Regions from separate parts of the Homo sapiens genome. Here region 2 is linked to region 1. The links are contacts of gene promoters, found by promoter capture Hi-C in human tissues and cell types (Jung and others, 2019). All regions are on one chromosome and are shown on one strand. Each heading gives the region's core, a stretch centred on a gene start or on the middle of the fragment in contact. The rest is flanking DNA. Distances are from core to core; before and after follow the strand shown. Region 1 holds the start of ECH1 (enoyl-CoA hydratase 1). Region 2 holds the start of SIRT2 (sirtuin 2).

Evidence for each region. The method cuts DNA at HindIII sites, captures the fragments that hold promoters and counts their contacts. A contact is called where the count stands out against the background at its distance.
Region 2: the fragment with the promoter of SIRT2 here is called in contact with the fragment with the promoter of ECH1 in region 1 in 2 of the 25 tissues and cell types used here (dorsolateral prefrontal cortex and spleen).

What each region holds. Positions count from the first base shown.
Region 1 is chr19:38,829,744-38,835,721 of GRCh38, reverse strand. ECH1 (enoyl-CoA hydratase 1) reads left to right here and starts at 3,928. Exons shown (of 10, transcript NM_001398.3): 1 at 3,928-4,001; 2 at 4,206-4,413; 3 at 4,556-4,644. The coding sequence starts at 3,950. The region is part of intron 1 of LOC124904712 (a long non-coding RNA gene); the gene reads right to left. RefSeq lists an enhancer at 3,880-4,029. The HindIII fragment of the contact is 9,746 bases long and covers 1-4,033 here.
Region 2 is chr19:38,896,871-38,902,336 of GRCh38, reverse strand. It overlaps SIRT2 (sirtuin 2), which reads left to right and starts at 2,719. Exons shown (of 16, transcript NM_012237.4): 1 at 2,719-2,831; 2 at 3,912-3,958. The coding sequence starts at 2,816. NFKBIB (NFKB inhibitor beta) reads right to left here and starts at 2,368. Exons shown (of 6, transcript NM_002503.5): 1 at 2,126-2,368. The coding sequence starts at 2,304. The HindIII fragment of the contact is 18,718 bases long and covers 1-5,466 here.

The DNA of each region.
Region 1 (5,978 bases), core at 2,679-5,178:
GTGTCAAAAAAACCCAAAACCTTTGTGTTCTGTATCATTTCAGAGTGACTTGTCTTTACCCTTGCAGTATCATTGTGTGGATGTGTCATGATTTAACCTGGTCCCAAAGGGTAGTTTCCAGGTCTATTTTTGCTATTGCAAACAGCGCTGTAACACGTATCTACACAAGTATCTTGGCCAGCTTCCCTGATACTGATCAGGAGATAAATTCCTGCCAGTGGAATTGCTGGGTTAAAGGATATATATAGCTGGATGTAGTGGCCCATGCCTGTAATCCCAGCACTTTGGGAAGCCAAGGCAGGCAGATCACTTAAGGCCGGGAGTTTTGAGACCTGGGCAACATGGCAAAACCCTGTCTACAAAAAATAAGAAAGTGGGCCGGGCATGGTGGCTCACGCCTGTAATCCCAGCACTTTGGGAGGCCGAGGTGAGCGGAACACTTACGGTCAGGAGTTCGAGACCAGCCTGGCCAACATGGTGAAACCCTGTCTCTACTAAAAAAATAAAAATTAGCCGGGCATGGTGGCACGTTCCTGTAGTCACAGCTACTCAGGAGGCTGAGGCAGGAGAATCGCTGGAACCCAGGAGGCAGAGGTTGCAGTGAGCCGAGATTGTGCCATTGCACTCCAGCCTGAGTGACGAGAGTGAAACTCCGTCTCGAGAAAAAAATATATAGAAAAATGATGTGGGCATGGTGGCACACACTGTGCCTATAGTCCCAGCTACTCATGGGGGCTGAAGCAGGAGGATCACTTGAGCTGTGAGCTGTGATGGCACCACTATACTCCATCCTGGGCGAAAGGGCGAGACCATGTCTCAAAACTTAAAGGATCTATATAATTGCATCATACGGTAGATAGCTTCCCACTTGCAGATGCAAATCTGTGAAGATGCCTTGCGGTGGCGGGTACCACCCGGAAGGATCCTGGTTTAAGGATTTTGACTCCTACTGGAGGGAAGAGGTGACCTGCAGAGGAGCAGGTCACAAACCTTGAAGTTTATGCATGTGTGCTTGAGAATAGCCCACTCTGGGGAATTTACTGTGAATAAAATTTTCTTTTTTGAGATGGAGTCTTGCTCTGTCACCCAGGCTGGAGTGCAATGGCATAATCTTGGCTCACTGCAACCTCTGCCTCCTGGTTCAAGCAATTCTCCTGCCTCAGCCTCCCAAGTAGCTGGGATTACAGGCATGTGCCACCATGCCTGGCTGATTTTTGTATTTTTAGTAGAGATGGGGTTTCACCATATTGGCTAGGCTGGTCTCGAACTCCTGAGATCCACTGGCCTCGGCCTCCCAAAGTAGCTATGATACAGGCATGAGCCACTGCGCCCGGCCTTACATTTTTAACATTTAATGACATCACAAAAGCATCATTTGGCAGATGAACAAGTTTTGCTTCACTATGGGAAGTTTCAAACAATCTTTAGACAAGGAAAAACTACAGTCATCTTGCAGCCATAAATAAAATCAACTAGGGTTTATTGTTTTTAAGCCAGTCAAGGTGATAAAAAGTGAATTTTACCAGTTTGTCTCCTAGCATCCAATTTCATTTCCTGTTACCAGTTTGAGTCTCCTTCCAGAGATATTACATACATACACCATATTCTGTGCAGGTCCAGCTACACTCTTTTTTTTGAGACATTGTCTCACTCTGTCACCCAGGCTGAAGTGCTGGAGTGCAGTGGCATGAGGTCAGCTCACTGCAAACTCTGCCTCCTGGGTTGAAGCAATTCTCCTGCCTCAGCCTCCCAAGTAGCTGGGATTACAGGCACCTGCCACCACGCCCCGCTAATTTTTTTTTTTTTTTAGACAGAGTCTTGCTCTGTGGCCCAGGCTGGAGTGCAGTGGCGTGATCTCACATCAGTGCAAGCTCCGCCTCCTGGGTTCACGCCATTCTCCTGCCTCAGCCTCCCGAATAGCTGGGACTACAGGCGCCCGCCACCACGCCCGGCTAATTTTTGGTATTTTTAGTAGAGATGGGGTTTCACCGTGTTAGCCAGGATGGTCTCGATCTTCTCACCTTGTGATCCACCCGCCTTGGCCTCCCAAAGTGCTGGGATTAGAGGCATGAGCCAACACGCCTGGCTAATTTTTATATTTTTAATAGAGATTGGGTTTCACCATGTTGGCCATGCTGGTCTCAAACTCCTGACCTGAGGTGATCTGCCTGCCTGGGCCTCCTAAAGTGCTGGGATTACAGACCTGAGCCACCGCACCCAGCCCAGCTATACTTTCTTACACCAAAGGAACAAAGGATCATACTAAATGTTCTATTACATCTTCACATTTTTTTCTCACACATTTTTATTTTTGCATAGAGGTTTCAGAGTTTTCTATGGTATAAACAGTCTACTGTTGATGGGTAGTTAATGGTTCTGTCTTTCAAAAGAGCCTGCTTTTCTAGTCTGTGAAAACACACAGGAGACAGGTTCATTAAGGAAAGATACTTCCTTCAATCTCACTGGCCCAGAGACATCTGTTCACCGCCTTGCTCAATGTCTCCCCAAAAAGCATACTTAAGCAGTTTTACAGTACTTTTTTTTTTTATTTTTTTGAGATGGAGTTTCGCTCTGTCCCCAGGCTGGAGTGCAGTGGCGCCATCTCGGCTCCCTGCGAGCTCCGCCTCCGGGGTTCACGCCATTCTCCAGCCTCAGCCTCCCCAGTAGCTGGGGCTACAGACGCCCGCCACCATGCCCGCTAAGTTTTTGTATTTTTTTAGTAGGGACGGGGTTTCACTGTGTTAGCTAGGTCAGGAGGTCGATCTCCTGACCTCGTGATCTGCCCGCCACGGCCTCCCAAAGTGCTGGGATTACAGGCGTGAGCCACCGCGCCCGGCCAGCAGTTTTACAGTACTTTTTATGCCTTTTGGTAGCTGGCTTTTCCCAAGGGAATTTCGGTTTTTTTGTTTTGTTTGTTTTTTTTAAGAACATGAACTTTTTTTTCTTCTTTTTTTTTTTTTTGAGATCTTGCTCTGTCGCCCAGGCTGGGGTACAGTGGTGCCATCTCTGCTCATTGCAACCTCCGCCTCCTGGGCTCAAGCCATTCTCTTCCCGCTAGGATTACAGGTGCCGGACACCGCACCCGGCTAATTTTTGTATTTTTAGTAGAGACGGGGTTTCGCCATGTTGACCAGGCTGCTGTTGAACTCCTGACCTCAGGTGATCCGCCTGCCTCGGCCTCCCAAAGTGCTTGTATTACAGGCGTGAGCCACTGCGCCAGGCTAAGAACATGAACTCTGGTGCCAGGTAATCCTGCTTTAGCCCTTCTGAAGCCCACCGACCTTGAACCTAGTGTCTTCCCGTGCCTGGGCCAGTTTCCTCTGCATATAGTAGGAAATAGTACGACCTCCTGGTGGGAGTTCATATTATACAGTCAGCGCTTAATGTTGGCCCGTCTGTACTCATTCCTTTACCTGAGTAAACTCACAGTACTGCAAGTTTTCTTTTATTTTTAGTTAACATGATATATACATGCATGATTACAAGCTCTGCTGCAATTATGTCCTTGGACATTTCAGCTGTCGCCTATTATTCCACCATTATGAAACAGCTGTGTGATGAACTTTAGCGGGAGCTGTTTGCTTTTCTGTTTTTTTTTTTGTTTGTTTGTTTTGTTTTTTTTAAGACGGAGTGTCGCTCGGTCGCCAGGCTGGAGAGCAATGGCGCGATCTCGGCTCACTGCAAACTCCGCCTCCCAGGTTCACGCCATTGCAGGAGCTATTTTCTTTGGCCAGGTTCCCACTGGGGCAAAGGGTCCATTTCTGAGCCTGGCTCTATGTAAGGCAACCGGAAATCGACTGCCCTTAGTAAAGATGGCGGAAAGAACGGCGTCATTGCCTGTCAGGTTGCGGCATCGGTGCCCTCGCTCAACATGGCGGCCTTCTGTGCCCGCCCCCTCCGCTAACGGGCACGTTACTCCGTCCGAACGCAGTAGACGAAGGCGGCGGCGATGGCGGCGGGGATAGTGGCTTCTCGCAGACTCCGCGACCTACTGACCCGGCGTGAGTCACCTCTTGCCTTATGGGGGTGCGTCGCGCTGTCGTGCTGTTATAGCAGATGTAGGACGGGGAGGGCTATCCGGGGTCACGAAGGGCCCGAGTCCCCTAAATTCAGGGGTGCGTGTGCTCCCTTTTGAAGGACTCCCTAATTCGATAGGCCTGTGTCTTGCAGTCTGGGGTCATCAAAGGCTGTTCCTTTCTCCCCAGGACTGACAGGCTCCAACTACCCGGGACTCAGTATTAGCCTTCGCCTCACTGGCTCCTCTGCACAAGAGGAGGCTTCCGGAGTAGCCCTCGGTGAAGCCCCAGACCACAGCTATGAGTCCCTTCGTGTGACGTCTGCGCAGAAACATGTTCTGCATGTCCAGCTCAACCGGCCCAACAAGAGGAATGCCATGAACAAGGTCTTCTGGAGGTCTGACCTGCAGATCCTGGAGGCCTGCCTGCGGGGGGAGGCGGGGCTGCGGGACTGGGTGAAAGTGGAACGTTGTGGGAAGATGGACATGAGGGCAGGGTATTCCCGCCCCATTTGTAACCCTTCACTCGTTGCTTCACAGAGAGATGGTAGAGTGCTTCAACAAGATTTCGAGAGACGCTGACTGTCGGGCGGTGGTGATCTCTGGTGCAGGAAAAATGTTCACTGCAGGTACCAGACGCTCTTCACACACCCTGCCAGCCTTCCTAGCTCCTGGCAATAGACAGTGGAGCAGTGCTTCTGAATTAGGGTTTTAAGCAGCTTCTGACTTACACACTTTTTTTTTTTTTTTTTGAGACGGGGTCTTGCTCTGTTGCCACGCTGGAGTGCAGTAGCGCAATCTCAGCTCACTGCAACCTCCACCTCCCGGGTTCAAGCAATTCTTCTGTCTGGGACTACAGGCGTGGGCCACCACACCCAGCTAATTTTTGTATTTTTAGTAGAGACGGGGTTTCACCATATTGGCCAGGATGGTCTCCATCTCCTGACGTTATGATCTGCCTGCCTCAGCCTCCCAAAGTGCTGGGATTATAGGCCTGAACCATTGCTCCTGGCCCCTAACTCACACTTTTATCTGTGTGTTTTTTTTTTTTTTTTTGGAGACAATATCTTTCTCTGTCACCCAGGCTGGAGTACAGTTGCCTAATCATAAATCACTGTAACCTCAAATACCTGAGGTCAAGCGATTCTCCCACCTCAGCCTGCCAAAATGCTGGGATTACAGGCAGGTGCCACCATGGCCAGCCCTATCATTTTTTTAAAAAAAGGCCTACTTTAAAACATTCAAATATAAGTATTAGTCTGACAGAACACGATGGGATCATAGGCTCTGAAGTCTAGGTTTCCATCCTGGATCTGTGGCCATGAACAACATGCTTAACCTCTCAGCCTATAGCTGTGTCAGCATATAATATAATAACATGCTTTCGTGCAACTATTCAACTCACTAATTGATTTCCAGTTACAGGTCAGTTGGATCTTTGGATTGACCCACTGACCTTTTCTTCAGATTGGAGAATTTCCACTGGTCACAGTTACTAACTGTTTAGTCATCTCTATCCTTCTGTAAAGCCCATCCAGTGATTTATTTTGTTTTATTTTGTTTCAGACGGAGTTTTGCTTTTGTTGCAATGGTGCAATCTCAACTCACTGCAACCTCTGCTTCCTGGGTTCAAGTGATTCTCCTGCCACAGCCACCCAAGTAGCTGGGGTTACAAGTGCCCGCCACCACGCCCGGCTAATTTTTTGTGTTTCTAGTAGAGACGGAGTTTTACCATGTTGGCCAGGCTGGTCTTAAACTCCTGACCTCAGGTCATCCACCCACCTAGGGCCTCCCAAAGTGCTAGGATGATAGGCGTGAGCCACCGTGCCCAGCTACTACCCACTGATTTTAAATTTCAGATATTGTAGTTTTCTTTCTTTTTTTTTTTTTTCTGAGACAGAGTCGCTCTGTCACCCAGGCTGGAGTGCAGTGGTGCGATCTCGGCTCGCTGCAAGCTCTGCCT
Region 2 (5,466 bases), core at 1,470-3,969, 68 kb before region 1:
GCACTTTGGGAAGCCGAGGCGGGCGGATCACAAGGTCAGGAGATCAAGACCACGGTGAAACCCCGTCTCTACTAAAAATACAAAAAAAATTAGCCAGGCGAAGTGGCAGGTGCCTGTAGTCCCAGCTACTCGGGAGGCTGAGGCAGGAGAATGGCATGAACCTGGGAGGCGGAGCTTGCAGTGAGCCGAGATTGCACCACTGCACTCCAGCCTGGGTGACAGAGCGAGACTCCATCTCAAAAAAAAAAAAAGAAATAAAATGAAAAACACTATACAGAAGGAGCAGGATTGAAAAAAAAGTAACAAAAACTATACCCAATAAAAGGCAAAAAGGAGGGAGGAAAAAGAAAACATAGGTAAGTAGAATATATATAATAGACATGGGATAAATTTACACAATCATATCAATATCAAATTAAATGTAAATGGTCTAAACACTAATTAAAAGGCAGAGACTGTCTGGGCACAGTGGTTCATCCCTGTAACCCAGCACTTTGGGAGGCCAAGGTGGGAAGAATGCTTGAGCTCAAGAGTTTGAGACCACAGCTGCACACAGTGGCTCACACCTGTAATCCCAGCACTCTGAGAGGCCACAGCGGGTGGATCACCTGAGGTCAGGAGTTTGAGACCAGCCTGGCCAACATGGTGAAACTGCTGTTGCTACTAAAAATACAAAAATTAGCCAGGTGTGGGGGCACGTGCCTGTAATCCCAAATTTGGGAGGCTGAGGCAGTAGAACTGCTTAAACCCAGGAGTCAGAGGTTTCAGCGAGCAGAGATAGTGCCACTATACTCCAGCCTGGGTGACAGAACAAGACTCTGTCTCAAAAAAAAAAAAAGAGTTTGAGAACATAGGGGGACAAAAAAATTTAAAAATTTGCCAGGCATGGTGGCATGTGCCTGTGGTCCCAGCTACTCAGGAGGCTGAGGTGCAAGGATCACTTGAGCCAGGAGGTTGTGGCTATAGTAAGCCATGATCATGCCACTGCACTCCAGCCTGGGCGACAGAGTGAGACTTCGTTTCAAAAAAAAAAGTCAGAACAGAGACCAATTGAATAGAAAGTAAAAAAAAATTAATGAAACCAAAATTAATTAATGAAATTTAATGAAAATTAACGAGACTATAAAGCTGGTTGAGATCAATATTCAGTGCCTCCTGGATCAGGCCCTGCTTGCATCACTGGGCATACAGCAGTAAACACAACAGACAAAAAACCCAGTACAATCCCTCATCTGGGCCTTTGCAACTGCAGTTCCTTCTCCTTGAAATGCTCTTATCTTGTTTATCTATTGCCTCATTTTCCTGCTTTATTTTTCTCCAAAGTACTTAACTACCTCTGACTTTATTTCCTTTTCTTACTTTCTATGTTTCTTTCTTTCTGCGTGTCTTTCTTTGTTTCTTCCTGTCTTTCCATTTCTTTCCTTCCTTGTGGTCTTATCAATCTGTTTATTTAGCTCCACTAAAATGTATGCTCCACAAGGGCTTAAGTTTTTGTTTGTTTTCTTCACTGCCTTTATCACTAGCACCTAAACGGAGCCTGGAACGTGGTAATGTGTAAAGAATATTTGTTTAACAGATGAATCCTTGGTCTCATGGAGCTAACATTCTTTTTTTTAATTTTCCTATTTTTTTACTTTAATTAGGAATTCAACATAGAAGAGCTTACATTCTCTCTCTTTGAATTTAAGATTTGAAGAACACTGCTCAGAAGACAGGATCTTAGAGTCAGGGACCAAGTATTAATTTCGGAAATCAAACTCTAGGGCTCAAATCGGGAACTAAGAATCAAAGATCATATTTGGAGGTTAGAAGTCAGGAGAAGCCACAGTTCTAACAGAAGTCTCAGGACTGGAGTCAGGTTTGGGTATCAGTGGATACAATGTGGATTCCAGGAGCTGAGAATCATAGTTCAAGAAAAGAAGGTAAGAAATGATTGGGTTAGGATCATAGCTAGATAGAAGATTGGTTTTGTTAAAAGTTAGGACTCGGGGGTTAGAGGTCAGGAAGTTCAGCATCGGAAGTCAGATTTAGGAGTATGAGGTTAGGAAGCCTCAGGGATCAGAGATTAATGAGGAATGTGACGCCGGGTCCTAGGGCTCCGTTTGGCAGCCTAAGGTTCACTCACGTGTCCCCATCCTCAGTGACGTAGCCGAAGACGAGGGGAGCCCACGACAGCCCCGGGCCCAACTCCGCGCCCAACCCAGGTCCTCCGGGGGCCGCTGCGTCCGGACCCAGGGAGCCCAGGCCGCTGTCGCACCATTCATCTGCGTCGGCAGCTTTTCCCAAGCACGCGACCCCAGCCATGGCCCCCGCCGCCTCAGGGGCCCCCCGCAGTCGCCCGCCTGTAGCTGGGCTTTGCCGGGAGTTCTGGAGCTTCCGCCCTGCGGGAAATTCCCCACCACGCCCCCTGATTCACCCAATGATAATATGCTGAATCGCTCACACCCCGCCCTCGTACTGCATCCTGACCAATCAGAGTATTCGGGAGGACTACAACTCTCTAGCCGTTCCCACATTTTCCGGGCGCCCTTTACCAACATGGCTGCTGACGCCACGCCTTCTGGGACTCGTAGTCCGGTCCTCGCGCGCTTTCTTACCTAACTGGGGCGCTCTGGGTGTTGTACGAAAGCGCGTCTGCGGCCGCAATGTCTGCTGAGAGTTGTAGTTCTGTGCCCTATCACGGCCACTCCCATTTCTGGTGCCGTCACGGGACAGAGCAGTCGGTGACAGGACAGAGCAGTCGGTGACGGGACACAGTGGTTGGTGACGGGACAGAGCGGTCGGTGACAGCCTCAAGGGCTTCAGCACCGCGCCCATGGCAGAGCCAGACCGTGAGTCGGGGATCCGGGTAGGAGGGTCGGGCCGCGCCGGGGCCTGGCTGAATGCTGCAGGCCCCGGGGCCCAAGGGTGGCCGCGGTGGGGCGGGAAGTAGGGAGCGCTTCGGGGAGTGGGATTCTGAGGGCTGTTGCTTAGCGATCTGTATCGCTAGGCTGGTGGGTTTCTGGGTCGCAGTGTGTTCAGGGTTCGTTTACCACATCCACTTGCCAAGTTGCCAATGATCGCGTGTTTCTCGCACCTTGGTTGCTAAGGTCCCTCGCTGCAAAGAACATAAGTTGCCCCGGTCCCGCTTGCTATGGGTACCTGATTGTTAGAGGCAACCAGAGGATGCTGAGGGACCCCTGCTGACCCCTCCTATGGCTTCCCCTTGTTCCGCGCCTCTCCTAAACCTACCGCCTCCACTGCACCACTGCACCTCCCTCCTAAACCTGCCTCCCAGCCAAAGCGTCTCTTCCCTTCTCTTTTCCTTTCTAAACTTCCCTCTGCCTTGTAAATCTAACCCTCCCCGCACACACACTCACACACTGTCGTGTCCTTCCTAACTCCTCCTGAGTGTTCCTTCATGCCCTGAATCCCCTAGGTAGGAGGAGGAGGATCGCTTGAGCCCAGGAATTTGAGGCTGCAGTGAGCTATGATCGCACTATTGCACTCCAACCTGGGTGACATGAGCGAGACCCTTTCTCTAAAAAGTAAAAAAGAAAGAAAGTAAGTCAGGGCCAGAAACAATGGCTCATGCTTGTAATCCCAGTACTTTGGGAGGCCAAGGTGGTTGGATCGCTTGAGCCCAGGAGTTCAAGACCAGCCTGGGCAAAAGCCCCTACTTTCTCCCTGTCCCCCTAAATCTTCCTCTCCAGCCTCTCTGCCCCTCACTAATCACCTCTCCCGGCATCACTTTGCATGTAGATAAGATCTTTTCTCCGTCCCCTCCCTCCCTCTGCTCCATTTTTACCACCATCCCATCCCAGTGTAACTAGGTTGGTGGGTGTTCTTGCCCCCTCACTGACCATTTGAACCCCTTTATTCCCCCCTTAATCGTTCTCCCCACTGTAACCACCTCTGCTCCCCTCCCCCAGCCTCTCACCCTCTGGAGACCCAGGCAGGGAAGGTGCAGGAGGCTCAGGTGAGATGGGGGAAAGGGTGGAGGGGAGGAGAGAGACGGACTTGTTCCACATCCCACACTGGGGGGAGGTGGCAAAGGGGAAACAGTCACCCCAGGGCCCTCGGCTCATTGCCCCAATCCCTCACACCACCCAGTGCAGCTTTCTGGGGAAAGGCAGATTCTGGGGATTGTCAGAGAAGAGTTTCCAGCCTCAAGTCCAGGCCTGTCCTCCCAAACTTTCCTTCTTCCTTGCCACTGCCTGCCATCCCTTCTGAACCACATTTGTCCTGGGACTGGAAGAGACAGGTATCCCATTTGGTCTTGGAACGCACAGATCTCGTGGACAAGTGATGGGAAAAAATGATCTCACAGCGTGATGACGAAAGTAACTCAGGGGGCCAGATGCAGTGGCTTATGCCTGTAATTCCAATAACTCAGGAGACTGAGGCGCGAGGATCGCTTGAGCCCAGGAGTTTGAGGCTGCAGTGAGCTATGATTGCATCACTGCACTCCAGCCGGGGTGAAAGAGCAAGACCCTTTCTCTAAAAAGTAAAAAAGAAAGAAAGTAACTCAGGGCCAGACACAGTGGCTCATGCTTGTAATCCCAGTACTTTGGGAGGCTGAGGTAGGAGGATCGCTTGAGCCCAGGAGTTCCAGACCAGTCTTGGCAACATAGGGAGGCCCCCACCTCTACAAAATATTTAAAAATTAGCCATGTGTAGTGGTGCATGCCTGCATTGCCAGCTACTCAGGAGGCTGAGTTGGGGGAGGATTGCTTAAGCCCAGGAGGTTAAGGCCGTAGTGTGCCTTGACTGTGCCACTGCACCCCAACCGGGGCGACAGAGCAAAACACGGTCTCAAAAAAAAAAAAAGGAAGAAAAGTAAAGAAACTCAGGGTACTGTGGGAGCACAGAGAAAATTTTCTGGGTCAAAGAAGATTCTAGCCAGGCCATTCCCTGGAGGAATCCACAGGCTGGTCTAGCTGTCAGACCAAGATACAGACACAGCATAAGTGAAGAGTGACTTAGAATTTTCTTAGACAAGGTGAGAAATGGTGATCCACACAACAGGTATCGCTTGTGCAAAGACCTGGGGGGCATGAAGGGGTGTGATGTGTTCCATAATTGGGTGGCTGGTGGTGGTCAGCTTGTTATAGTCGTGGTTAGCATTTACTGACGGCTTACTAAAGCTGGGCCCACTGTTTAGTGCCAAACGTGCCTCATCTCAATTTCATCTTCCTGGCATCCCTGTGAAGAGAAACGCCTATCACGGCCATTTTACAGATGCAGAATCTGAGGCAGAGTTGTTAAGTCACTTATCCCCCGTCCCTCGGCTACAGGAGCAGGGAAGGGTTTGAGTCCCCCAGCACTGGGCACGCCACCTGTCAGAGGCTGCCAGGAGAGGTGGACAGGCAGTCTCATAGGAGCTTGAAGGCCCCCGTCAGCACCTCCGGCTCTCCCTTAGGCCAAGCTGCAGACACATGCTGGGCACAGGCCTTCCACACAGCCTCACTGTGTACAGCCTGAAAG